Linked DNA regions of Homo sapiens: region 1 is linked to region 2. Evidence: promoter capture Hi-C in human tissues and cell types (Jung and others, 2019). All regions are on one chromosome and are shown on one strand. Each heading gives the region's core, a stretch centred on a gene start or on the middle of the fragment in contact. The rest is flanking DNA. Distances are from core to core; before and after follow the strand shown. Region 1 has its middle 13 kb from the start of WNT7B. Region 2 holds the start of GTSE1 (G2 and S-phase expressed 1).

Region 1 (5,678 bases), core at 3,025-5,524, 300 kb before region 2:
CCCCTCTGAGGCCCATAAAAACCCTGGGCTCAGCCAGAGCTGAGCAGATTACAAGTTGATCAGCTGCTGAGAGGAGCTACCCTCTCTGCTGAGAGCTTCAGAGACCTGAGGAGATGTCAGAATAACCTGCCTGCAGAGAGGCACTACCCTCTCTGGGGCTTCCTCTCTGCGGAGAGCTGAACACTCGATGGGACAACCTGCCTAGAAAGAGGAGCTACCCACTGCAGGTCTCCTCTGAGCTGTTCTAATACTCAATAAAGCTCCTCTTTGTCTTGCTTACCCTCTACTTGTCTGCATACCTCATTCTTCCTGGATGCAGGACAAAAACTCAGGCAAAGACGCCACTGGTCACAGAGGTTTCCAGCTAAAAAGACGACACCCAAAAGATCCTGTAACACCAGGAGCTAGCATGGGTTCACTGGGAATGAAATGTGTAGGCTCCCTGTGACTTCTGACCTCTGTGAGGGTCATGAACCCAGGAGGTGAGGCATTTGACAGGGAGGCTCGGGACTGCCTCATAGACAAACTCACATCACATCTTCTATGTTAAAACAAATGCTCTGTGTCTCTAACAAAAGTCCTCTCCAGGACCAGGAGAGCTGAGGTCAGGCTGCCCAGCACATCCAGCTGCACCTTGACCAAAACTCCAGGCTGCCTGAGCCTGGCAGTCAGCCGAGAGAGGAGGTGATGAGGGCCAGGTGTGCTGAGTGAGGCTGAGGCAGGGGCGAGCCCCCATCTCTGCAGATGAGGATCTGGAGTCCAGGTGAGGCCTGGTCTGCGCTTGTCCATGAACCCCTTCCTCGGTAGGAGAGCCAAGGACCTGAGTCTGGAGAGGGATGCTCCTGGCCCTCCCTGACCCCAACATACAATCACTCCTCGCCTGTGGCAACCGACCAGCACCGCCCTGATGGGGCAGCTCCAGGACCCTGGCTAAGCTGGGTTTGCTGGTGGGCAAAAGCAATGTGCCCTGGGCAGTCCTTTACCTCCTCCTTCCATGAGGGTCACTTTGACCTCCACCCTGCACTGATGACTGCTGGTGGAAGATCCAGGTTTGAGCTTTGAGGGAGGAGGAGGGAAGGCCCTTTCCAGTGCCTCCCACCACAGAATGAAGAGTCCTTTGATTTCCTGCTTGAGTCCCCCATGGGGAGAAGATGGATGCCCAAGGCTGAATCTGAGCCTTCCAGAGTTCCCTGCATAAAGCCCACCCTCTAAAAGTGCCACGACCCAGTGGGACTAACCTAGCACATGATGCCAGAGTGCCCAGCACCCAGGGCTGAGGCTGGGTTAGGCCACAAAGGCCACCGAAAGCCAGGCCACCATTTGGACCTCATCCTTCTAGGCAAGGGCCCGACACCGAGCACTCAGCTGCCTGTCTCCGCTGGGGCTTCTTGTGGCTGCACCATGGGCATTCAGGGCAGGATCGTTCCCTGTGGTGGGGACCGTCTGTGCCCGGTAGGATGTTCAGCAGCGTCTCTGGCCTCTGCCCACTAGACGCTTTTAGCACACAGCATCCCCTGAGGTATGACAACAAAACGTATCCCCAGACATTGCCAAATGTCTCCCGGGGAGCAGAATTGGCTCCAGTTGAGAACCACTGGTCTAAGATATGAGCGTTGGACTTTTTGGTGTGGAGGACCCAGATTCTATTCATCCTGTTTCGTGGACACCCCCAGGACAGGGACCGGGTGGCCAGGCTTAAGCTGAGCCACAGGCACATCTGAGCTCCTGCTTGCAGGAATCAGAACAGCCCAAATAAACAATTTCGTTTTAAGCAAACCTGCAGCCACGATCCTACCTGTCAGGGTGATCTCCTGAAAGTCATGGGGTGTCTGTTTTAGTCTTGGGCACCAAGAGTCACAGCCCCAGGGCTGACCACTGATGGCATCGACGCCTGGAAACTGGCCTGCTTCCCCCACACCACACAGGACCCATGAACGACCAAGAACCACTGATCTGGTCTGAACCTCTTGCTTTAAGGGTGGGAAGGCCGAGACCCAGGGAGGCTGCCAGGGTCACACAGTCATCAAGCAGGGGTTTGAGCCCCAGCATGCTAGCCCCAGGAGCCAGGAACTCTGGTGCTGACAGTGGGGTTCCCCAGGGCTGTTTCGCCATCTCCTACTGGGTGACTACAGCTGGCAGATCTGGCATCAGACCCACGGCCTGGGGTCCCTGGCTGGACCATACAATCTTCCTTCCCTGCAGGGGCCGCCTAGGGAGGTTGGCACACAGACCTGGACTCCTTAGCCCCTCTCCACAGGGGTCCCCATTTCAGCCTGAGAATGCACACAGGCCATCAGGAGGCAGTGGCCAGGGCGTGAGGGTGGGCTCCAACCCAGGCCCAGAAAATGCCTTCATAGCTGTAAGGCTATACAGCTGCGGAAGACTTCGGGCAACAGCTCAGACTGAGTCCAATTCGAACCCGGGCCTTCCGTGTACACGCCGTGGGATTCGGGCAAATCATTCCTCTCCAGGACACCTCAACCAAAGGTGTGAATGTCCACATCACCGGGAGGTTTAAGGAGGTAACACCATCTACCCAGCAGGGTGCTGGGGGGCCTCCTCGGGAGCTGTCACAGCTGATCCTGGGTCCACAGTGAACAGAAAGTGGGTGTTGGGGGCAGAGTCTGGAGACGGGGACAGTGGACCACCAGGCTCTGTGACCCCGAGCCTCAGCTTCCCCATCTGTGAAAGGACACCCAGCACCTTGATCTGTGGGCGCATGAAGCCCTAAGTGAGGGCCTGGCACACGCTAAGTGTTCAGCTCAACCAGCGAGTCACACTAACTGCGGAGACCAGGGCATTGCCAGGATTACTGGAGTTTGAAGGCCACATTTGCAGTGATCCCACCTGGGCTGGGGCTGATTGCTCTTCAGAGTTGCTGTGCCCAAAGGAGGGAGCAGATGGCACGTCAGGGAGGCAGCCCAGCCGTCACCCCCTTCAGGTGGGCAGCCAGGGTCCCTAGGGAGGCGCTAGGTGGAGGGCATAGGTGAGACACCCCATGGAAGCAGGCAGTAAGAAAGTCCAGGCCAAGGCCAGGGACAGGGCCTAACCTCTGAGACAGTGGGTCCTGCCCATGTACCCTATTTCCTGGCTGCCTGAGACCACAAAGAGCTGCAGCTCCCGAACACTCCCCACTTCTAATGCACTCTTAGCTGTACCCTGAGTGCAGCATCCTGGGCCACCTCTCAGCGCTTGAGGTGCCTTTGCCCTCCCTGCCTGGTGGGAAATGGGTACATACAAGTCCCTGGCAAAAGGAGGGGCTGGGGCTTTTATAACACTCTTTTCAGGAACTGGAGCCAACATACAAAGATTTTGAGGGGTGGGAATCATGACACATATCAACATGCCTCAAATATACACATCAAGCTAATTTCCTCACCAGTTAAAGTGGCTGAAATGTGGTCTTCTCATTGAGCCAGGCCAGGAGGAAACTGATCCGGATCCCAGGAGATTAAAACACGTGCAAGTCAAACGGAAAGCTCAGAGAGTGCTGGCTGGGTCCTGAATTGAATTATGTTGCCTACAGCTGGTGCTGTAGTCGTAGGGCACTGCGGACCACTGAGTTATTAAAACAGATATATTACTGCACAGGATCCATCCAGCAGGGCTGTTTCTGGTGGTGGAAACTTTTTTTTTCTTTAGACTGAGTCTCACTCTGTCGCGTAGGCTGGAGTGCAGTGGCGTGATCTCAGCTCACGGCAACCTCCGCCTCCCAGGTTCAACCAATTCTCATGCCTCAGCCTCTCCACTAGCTGGGATTACAGGTGCACGCCATCACACCTGGCTAATTTTTGTATTTTTAGTAGAGACGGGGTTTCACCATGTTAGCCAGGCTGGTCTCAAACTCCTAACCTCAGGTGATCCACCCACCTTGGCCTCCCAAAGTGCTGGGATTACAGGCGTGAGCCACCACGCCCGGTCTTTCTCTGGGCTTTTAAAAGTTCCACCAGGGCCAGGAGCAGTGGCTCACACTCCTCCTAAAGTACTCCCAGTACTTTAGGAGGCTGAGGCATGTGGTTCACCTGAGGTCAGGAGTTTGAGACCAGTCTGGCCAACATGGTGAAACCCCATCTCTACTAAAAATACAAAAATTAGCTGGGCGTGGTGGCTCGCACCTGTAATCCCAGCTAGTGGGGAGGCTGAGGCAGGAGAATGGCTTGAATCCGGGAGGCAGAGGTCGCCATGAGCCGAGATCATGCCACTGCACTCCAGCATGGGTGACAGAGTGAGACTCTGTCTCTAAAAAATAAGATAAAATAAAAGCCCAGAGAAAGAGCTGCAGACTTTATGAGACGCTAAGATTTCCTTCACTCCCACCAGGACCTGTGGCACAGGCCAGGCAGGCATGGAAAAGGCCAGATGAGGGACAGGCAGAGGGGCCCACAGTTATATCCCGGCGGGGAGAGCATGGGCAAGCTTCTAGCCTGTCGAGGCAGAATCTTCGCCCATTTGGGCCAGGGGCTCATTCACCAGGACTGGTGGCAGAAGGAGACGGAGGGGTGGCATCAACTATGTTCGATGGGCAGGCCATGCTGGCCGGGTCCCAGGGCCTTGGGGAGAAATCAGCCTTCAAAGGAAAATGCCACAGAAACTAACAAGAGCCCAGTGCCATGAGAGCCCCAGGGAGACAGGCAGCGGGCAGGGGTGTTCGGGGAAGGCTTCCTGGAGGAAGACAGCCATTGCTGAGCCCTGAAGGGTGAGCCAGGCAGACAGTCCAAGAAACCGTCTTCCTGGCTGAGGGACGGCACGGAGATGAGCAGGAGCAAAGCCTGCTGAGCCACGCATGGGGCCACACAGCCATCGGCTTCAAACCGGCATTGGGTGAGTGGCCTTCTCCCAGAAGTTTCAGTCTTTTGCTCTAAAATGGGGTGATAGGGCCTGCCCTGTCCCCATAGGGCCCCTGCAGGCACTTCCCTGGGGCTCCCAGGAGCATAGCCCCTGCACCCACCCTCATCAAACCGACCTGCACTGAGCTCCAGCCCTGGTTTCCACTACCCTTTGTCCCTATTGATCCCTCATGCTCTCTTTGGGGCACATTGCCTAGATCACCCTCCTCCAAACTTCTCACCAGGAAACTCCTCTTCAGCCTACTGAGGTGGCTGGCACCTCCTCCAGGGAGCCCTCCTGGTTGTTCAAGGTAACCTTAGATGCTCCCTTCCCTTGCCTCCACACACCTTCTGCCTTCCCATCTCAGCCTGGACCCACTGCACAGTGTCTGTCTCTGTCTCTTCAGGAGCAGCTTCTGGGAAGGTCTTGGGCCAGTGCTGTTGCACTCTACCTTCCCCTAACACCTCGAGTGCAGAGCGGTGCCTGAGGTACTTGTGGGAGACACACAAACATGGCCGCGGCTACCATGGGCTACCCAGTGATGACCATTGAGAGGGCTTCTTTGGCAAATGTTGTTGTTCTTGTTAGCGATGATGATGGTGGTGGTGGTAGTGAAGGTGATGGTGGAGGTGATGGTAATGATGGTGGTGATGGTAATGATGGTGGTGATGGTGACGATGGTGGTGGTGGTGGAGGTGATGGTGGAGGTGATGGTAATGATGGTGGTGATGGAATGATGGTGGTGGTGGAGGTGATGGAATGATGGTGGTGATGGTGATGCTGGTGGTGATGGTGGAGGTGATGGTAATGATGGCGGTGATGGTGATGATGGTGATGATGGTGGTGATGGT
Region 2 (5,789 bases), core at 2,301-4,800:
TTATATTCTAGACAGTCTCTGTTGTCTCATTGTGTTGCTGTCCCATTTTTCAGGTGAGGGTACCGGGGTAGGGGAGTGGCCTGCCCAGGGTCACACTATGAGAGGCCCCCACCTGCTGCCTTTGGACGCAGCCCCCTGCTGCTGCATCCACCACCCTTCTTACAGATCAGCGCGCACATGGGGTCCTTCTGCTGTCTCTGGGGCGAGTCTTGGAGCCCCCTGGGGGGCTCTGTTGGTGCTGATTTGGACCCGTTTCTCTTTTTAAACTGCACATCATAACAGGGCTTCATGTCGAGCATGATTTTAATCATAAATGCACTTCTGAGGTGCAAGGATTGAGCTCAGAGCTGCTCTGTTGTGGCAAAACCCAAAGTGCTGTGATGTGTGGCTGTGACAAGCCTGGAGCGGGTCCTGTGAGCGCCGCCTCTGTCTCCTGCTTCCCCACTGAACGCCTGCTGAATGTGCCGCTGACTCAGCTGTGCTGCTTTCAGCCCTCCTGTGAGGGGCGGTCCCAGTGCACAGATGTTTTTCAAGTTCCTCAGTTTGTACTGAAATTAGGGATTCATCAGGGCAGGAAGCAGGCAGGCCTCTCAGAAGGGAGAGGAGGCCTCCAAATCTATTGAGTCCCCACAGTTTGCTCAAGCCCAGGCAAATTTCTGTGATTAAAATGAATTCATCAGTTCCTCCAAGTCTTTGAGCATCTGTGGTGCAGGCCTGGGGCTGGGTCCTGGGGAGATGGCTTCTCCTTGAACTTAAGGTAGGTGGGGCAGGCCAGGCGCAGTGGCTCACGCCTGTAATCCCACCACTTTGGGAGGCTGAGGTGGGTGGATCCCCTGATGTCAGGAGTTCGAGATCAGCCTGGCCAACATGGTGAAACCCTGTGTCTACTGAAAATACAAAAATTAGCTGAGCATGGTGGCACACGTCTGTAATCCCAGCTACTCGGGAGGCTGAGGCAGGAGAATCACTTGAACCTGGGAGGCAGTGATTGCAGTGAGCCAAGATCGTGCCATTGCACTGCAGTCTGGGCAACAGAGCGAGACTCCCATCTCAAGGGAAAAAAAAAAAAAAGTAGGTGGGGCATCTAGTCAAGAAAATGGGAGGTCGGGCGCAGTGGCTCACGTCTGTAATCCCAGCACTTTGGGAGGCTGAGGCAGGTAGATCACGAGGTCAGGAGATCAAGACCATCCTGGCTAACACGGTGAAACCCCATCTCTATTAAAAATACAAAAAATTAGCCGGGCATGGTGGTGGGCGCCTGTAGTCCCAGCTACTCGGGAGGCTGAGGCAGGAGAATGGCGTGAACCCGGGAGGCAGAGCTTGCAGTGAGCGGAGATCGCGCCACTGCACTCCAGCCTGGGCGACAAAGCAAGACTCCGTCTCAAAAAAAAAAAAAAAGAAAGAAAGAAAAGGGGTAATTATAGTAGTATTTCCAGAGAGGCGCCTTCTCTACCCAAGAACTAGGGACACATCCTAAGGGGAGCCTCCTTCCCCTCTCCTGGTTCCAAGCAAGAAGACATGACTTGGCTGTGCAATTGGGAACCCTGGTCCCTCCTCCAGGAAGCCTTCTACCCGCCAACCCCCACTGCAGGCTGGTGAGGGTGCTGCCTCTGTGCCCCTCAGCCCTTGGCACTTGCCCTTGCTCTTGCACCCCTGCCATGACCTCTCCAGGTCAGGGACAGCATCTGTCCCCAGCATCACCTGGCACATGGCCTGCACTGAGTAGCTGTCAGTGAAAGTTGGTGAATGAAGGCATAAATAAATGAAGTCAAACTCTGTATTAGGCCTTCTTGCATTGCTATGAAGAAATACCTGACGCTAGGTAATTTATAAAGAGGTTTAATTGGCTCACAGTTCTGCAGGCTTTTCAGGAAGTATGGTGCTGGCATCTGCTTCTGGTGCAACCTCAGGAAGCTTAAGATCATGACATAAGGTGATGGGGAGCCAGTATATCACATAGTGAGAGCAGGAGTAAGAGAGAAGGGGAGGTCTTAGACTCTTAAATAACCAGATCTTGTGTGAACTAAGCAAGAACTCATCACCAAGGGGATGGTGCTGAACCATTCATAAGGGATCTGCCCTCACGACCCAATTACTTCCCACCAGGCCCCACTTCCAACATTGGGATCACATTTCAACATGAGATTTTGAGGGGACACACATCCAAACTACAGCAAATCCTATTGGGGGCAGAAATGAATCTGCCATACATAGGCCACACCTACTATGTGCTGACATGATACAGGGAGAGGAGTATCAGGAATGACTGTTGGGGATCCCTCTGCCATTCTCCCATGAGCAGACATCCCCAGGATGAGCTGAGGGGAATGCAATGAGCAGGCCAAACTCTTTCCAAGCTGTTTGACCACACCCACCTACCCCAGCACTCTCAGCCCCTGCCTGGTGCCCTGTGCTGAGCTGGGTGAGGCTGGGGAGACTGGTGAGTGAGGGCTGCCCTGCCCTTTTTGAGCCCCCAGTCTTCTGGTGAAGGAACATAGCAACATGGAGTGATTGGTATGGATGATGCAAAACCAGGGACATGGGACCCAGAAGTGCCCGAGCCAGCCTGGAAGGCCTCTGCCCTGGGCCCCGGGTGGCTGTTTGCTGCACAGCTCTCCCCACAGCCTGCCCCAAATAAACAGCTTATCTTCGTCCCTGAAAATGGTGCTCTCGAGTTCCATCCTTTTCAGAGCGGGTCCTCCCAGACTCCTCTTCCTGCATCCTCCTCCATCCCGCTTAGTGACACTTTGCCGTGGGTGGAGCCCCTCATTTGATCCTCAAGCCCCCGAGGTGGGTATTATACCTCGTTCGCAGGCAAAGGCTCAAGCGAGGTCAGTCTTAAGTTGCTGCCCACTGACCCGTCTACCAGTCCTGTCCTTGCGTCTCCATGGCTCAGGTCAGGGTTATCCTATCTGCTTCCCACCTCTCTCCAACACATGCACTCCCCAAGGCAGGCTCCATCACCGGGCCCCAGCCCCTGGCTCTCTCCTCCAACGCAGCTCCCCAGCCGGCCTGTAAAACCGAGGACAGGCTCCCGCCACGCCCTCGGCGGTCCTCAGGCCTTGGCGGTTGGGGAAGCCCGCCAAGGGCGACGGTTCCCCTCCAGCCCCACAGGCTGTGCAGCTCCGGCAATGAGTCTCCCTCAGGTCTCTGGGTCAGCCGGCGCCCCAGTGCGTGCCTCGGGGGCAGGGATCCCGGCTTTTCACTACTGTTAGTAACAGCTCGCGCGCGCTGCTTCACAGCAGGTGGGTGAGCCTACTTTTAGTCTTCCCATCGACACCCTTAGATGGCAGTTTTAACTTTCTCCCTACACACAAGGAGCTGCTATACATGGTTCCGGCTTGACGCGGATACCTAGTGACACTTGGCGGCCAGGCCGGGCAGACTTCCGGGTGGGTGATCCCTGGCGCTGTGCGGAGCCATTCGCTGCGCTGAAGCAGTGCGCATGCGCACTGGACGCTTCTTACCAGCGTCCTGACTACAATACCCAGGACGCACCCAGCCCGCCGCCTCTCGGAGCCCTTTTCAAACCGACCAATCGGCAACCCGCGTCTCCCGGCGCCGCGTTTAAATCCGTGCCGGAGGCGCGTCCTGCATCGTCTGCCGCTTTGGGTAAGGTGGGGTCAGGGTCGGGGGCGAGGCTTGCCCGGTGGGCCCGGTGCGGCGCGGTGCCCGCCGTTTTCGGGACGGGGAGGGGCCGCGCCCCGCCAGGAGCCGGGCCTGGGCTCGAGCAGGGGTCACTGAGGCCCCTCGCGCCGTGGTCGGGGATGCCGGGAGGTCTAGGGCTGCCCCCCAGGCAAACAGAGCCCCCAACACTCTGGCCCAGAAGCCGAGAATTCCGTTATCTCGTCTGATGGCGTTCGGGCTGACTCCCGGCCTGGCGGCACTCGGGCCCTGGGGTCCCCTGGGATGCGATCATTTCAGAGCGGCCCCCGCGCCGCCTCTCCCAGACCTGGCCGCGGCCTTCAGCTCTCTCTGCCTCTGTGAGCCGAGGGCTGAAGGAAGCCGGAGCCCTGGGCCCTGACACGTACTCACTTTCTGGCCCCGTTCCACCCTGCAGTGACTTCTGACAGCTCTCTCCATGGAAGGAGGCGGCGGCCGCGATGAGCCTTCAGCCTGCCGGGCAGGGGACGTGAACATGGATGACCCTAAGAAGGAAGGCAAGTCCTTGCTGCTGCGGCGCTGTTGTTGTTCAGGATGTTCAGTAGAGATGGAGGGTGATTTAATGTTTCCCTGAGAAATTCTTTCTCAAGTGCTCGACTTGTACTCTGCACCTGTGAAACACATGACATCTGCCTTCGTTTTCTGGTTTTCTTTCACCTCCTCCCCATTTTAAGTTTCATCACAGCCAGGATTCTCATCCGTTTTATTTACCGCAGTGCTCCCATGCCCTGAACAGCACCTAACACTTTGTGGGCTCTCAAATATTTATTGTATTGAATTCGATGTTTTCTTTTTTGTTTGTCGCTGGTTTCTGTTTGCTAAGACTTATTTAGGATCTTTGAGACCATGTTAATGAGTAAGCCTGGCCCCAAACCCCTTTCTTCTTGTGTCTTTGACTGGTTTGGGTATCAAGGTGAGGGTACAGCTTCACAGAATGAGTTACAGGCCACACCCTCTTTTTCTCTCAAAGCGTTTTTATTTATTTATTTATTTATTTATTGACGGAGTCTCGCTCTCTCACCCAGGCTGGAGTGCAAAGGCGTGATCTGTACTCACTGCAACCTCTCTCTCCTGAGTTGAAGGGATTCTCCTGCCTCAGCCTCCCTAGTAACTGGGATTACAGGCACCCGCTGCCACACCTGGCTCATTTTTGTATTTTTAACAGAGACGGGGTTTTGCCATGTTGCCCAGGCTGGTCTCGAACTCCTGAGCTCAGGCAATCTGCCTGCCTCGGCCTCCCAAAGTGCTAGGATTATAGGTGTGAGCCACCTCACCCAGCCTCACAAAGCATTTTGACATCCCTTGGGTAGTTTTCTCACACTACCCAAGGATCCTTTCTTTTTGAGACCAAGTCTCACTCTGTCTCCCAGGCTGGAGTGCAGTGGCATGATCTTGGCTCACTGCAACCTCTGCCTTTCGGGTTCAAGCGATTCTCCTGCCTCAGCCTCCCGAGTAGCTGGGATTACAGGCACCCGCCACCACACCTGGCTGATTTTTGTATTTTTAGTAGAGATGGGGTTTTACCATGTTGGCCAGGCTGGTCTCAAACTCCTGACCTCAGGTGATCCACCTGCCTAGGCCTCCCAAAGTACTGGGATTACAGGTGTGAACCACCGCGCCTGGCCCCAAGCATCCTCAATGCCTCCATTTTGCAGGAACTGTCCTGGAGACTTTACAAATCAATGTTGCATCTTCATATCTAGCAAGGCGCTTGCCTCTGCACCCCTCTCCTCCTTCCTGTCATGTCCTTCCTTTCAAATATGTCCTTTCCACGTGCATACTGCACCCCCTGCTCCTTCTTGAGGCCTTCCCCACTTCCGTTGACCTGACTTCATTTCCTTACTTTTCCCCTGTCCACTACTGGATCATGCGCATCCACATACAGATAATGTTCCCTTGTCTCACTTGTCGCCACGTCTCCTCCGTTGCCTCTCCATTGCTGTGTTTCTCCTTCCAAGCCAAACTTTGAGAGCTTTCTCACTTGTTATGCCATTTTTTTCCGCCTCTCAATCCCTCCCATTCCGGCTTCTGTCCTTACCACTCCATTCAAGCTGCTTTCATCAGTCGTTGACGACTTCCACATTGCTGAATCTCTTTTCACTTTTCTATCGCCAGTCAGCTTTTCA

The links. The method cuts DNA at HindIII sites, captures the fragments that hold promoters and counts their contacts. A contact is called where the count stands out against the background at its distance.
Region 1: a contact is called between a fragment that was not itself captured here and the fragment with the promoter of GTSE1 in region 2, in 3 of the 25 tissues and cell types used here (dorsolateral prefrontal cortex, mesenchymal stem cells and spleen).

What each region holds. Positions count from the first base shown.
Region 1 is chr22:45,987,819-45,993,496 of GRCh38, forward strand. No RefSeq gene overlaps it. Among named protein-coding and RNA genes, the nearest start is that of WNT7B, 13 kb to the left of the region's middle. RefSeq lists enhancers at 1-43, 4,745-5,244. The HindIII fragment of the contact is 8,090 bases long and covers 230-5,678 here.
Region 2 is chr22:46,293,320-46,299,108 of GRCh38, forward strand. GTSE1 (G2 and S-phase expressed 1) reads left to right here and starts at 3,551. Exons shown (of 12, transcript NM_016426.7): 1 at 3,551-3,612; 2 at 4,061-4,160. The coding sequence starts at 4,082. It overlaps GTSE1-DT (GTSE1 divergent transcript), which reads right to left and starts at 3,341. Exons shown (of 1, transcript NR_024009.1): 1 at 1,824-3,341. It overlaps TTC38 (tetratricopeptide repeat domain 38), which reads left to right. Exons shown (of 14, transcript NM_017931.4): 14 at 1-689. RefSeq lists a silencer at 3,609-3,808 and an enhancer at 3,959-4,068. The HindIII fragment of the contact is 16,228 bases long and covers 1-5,789 here.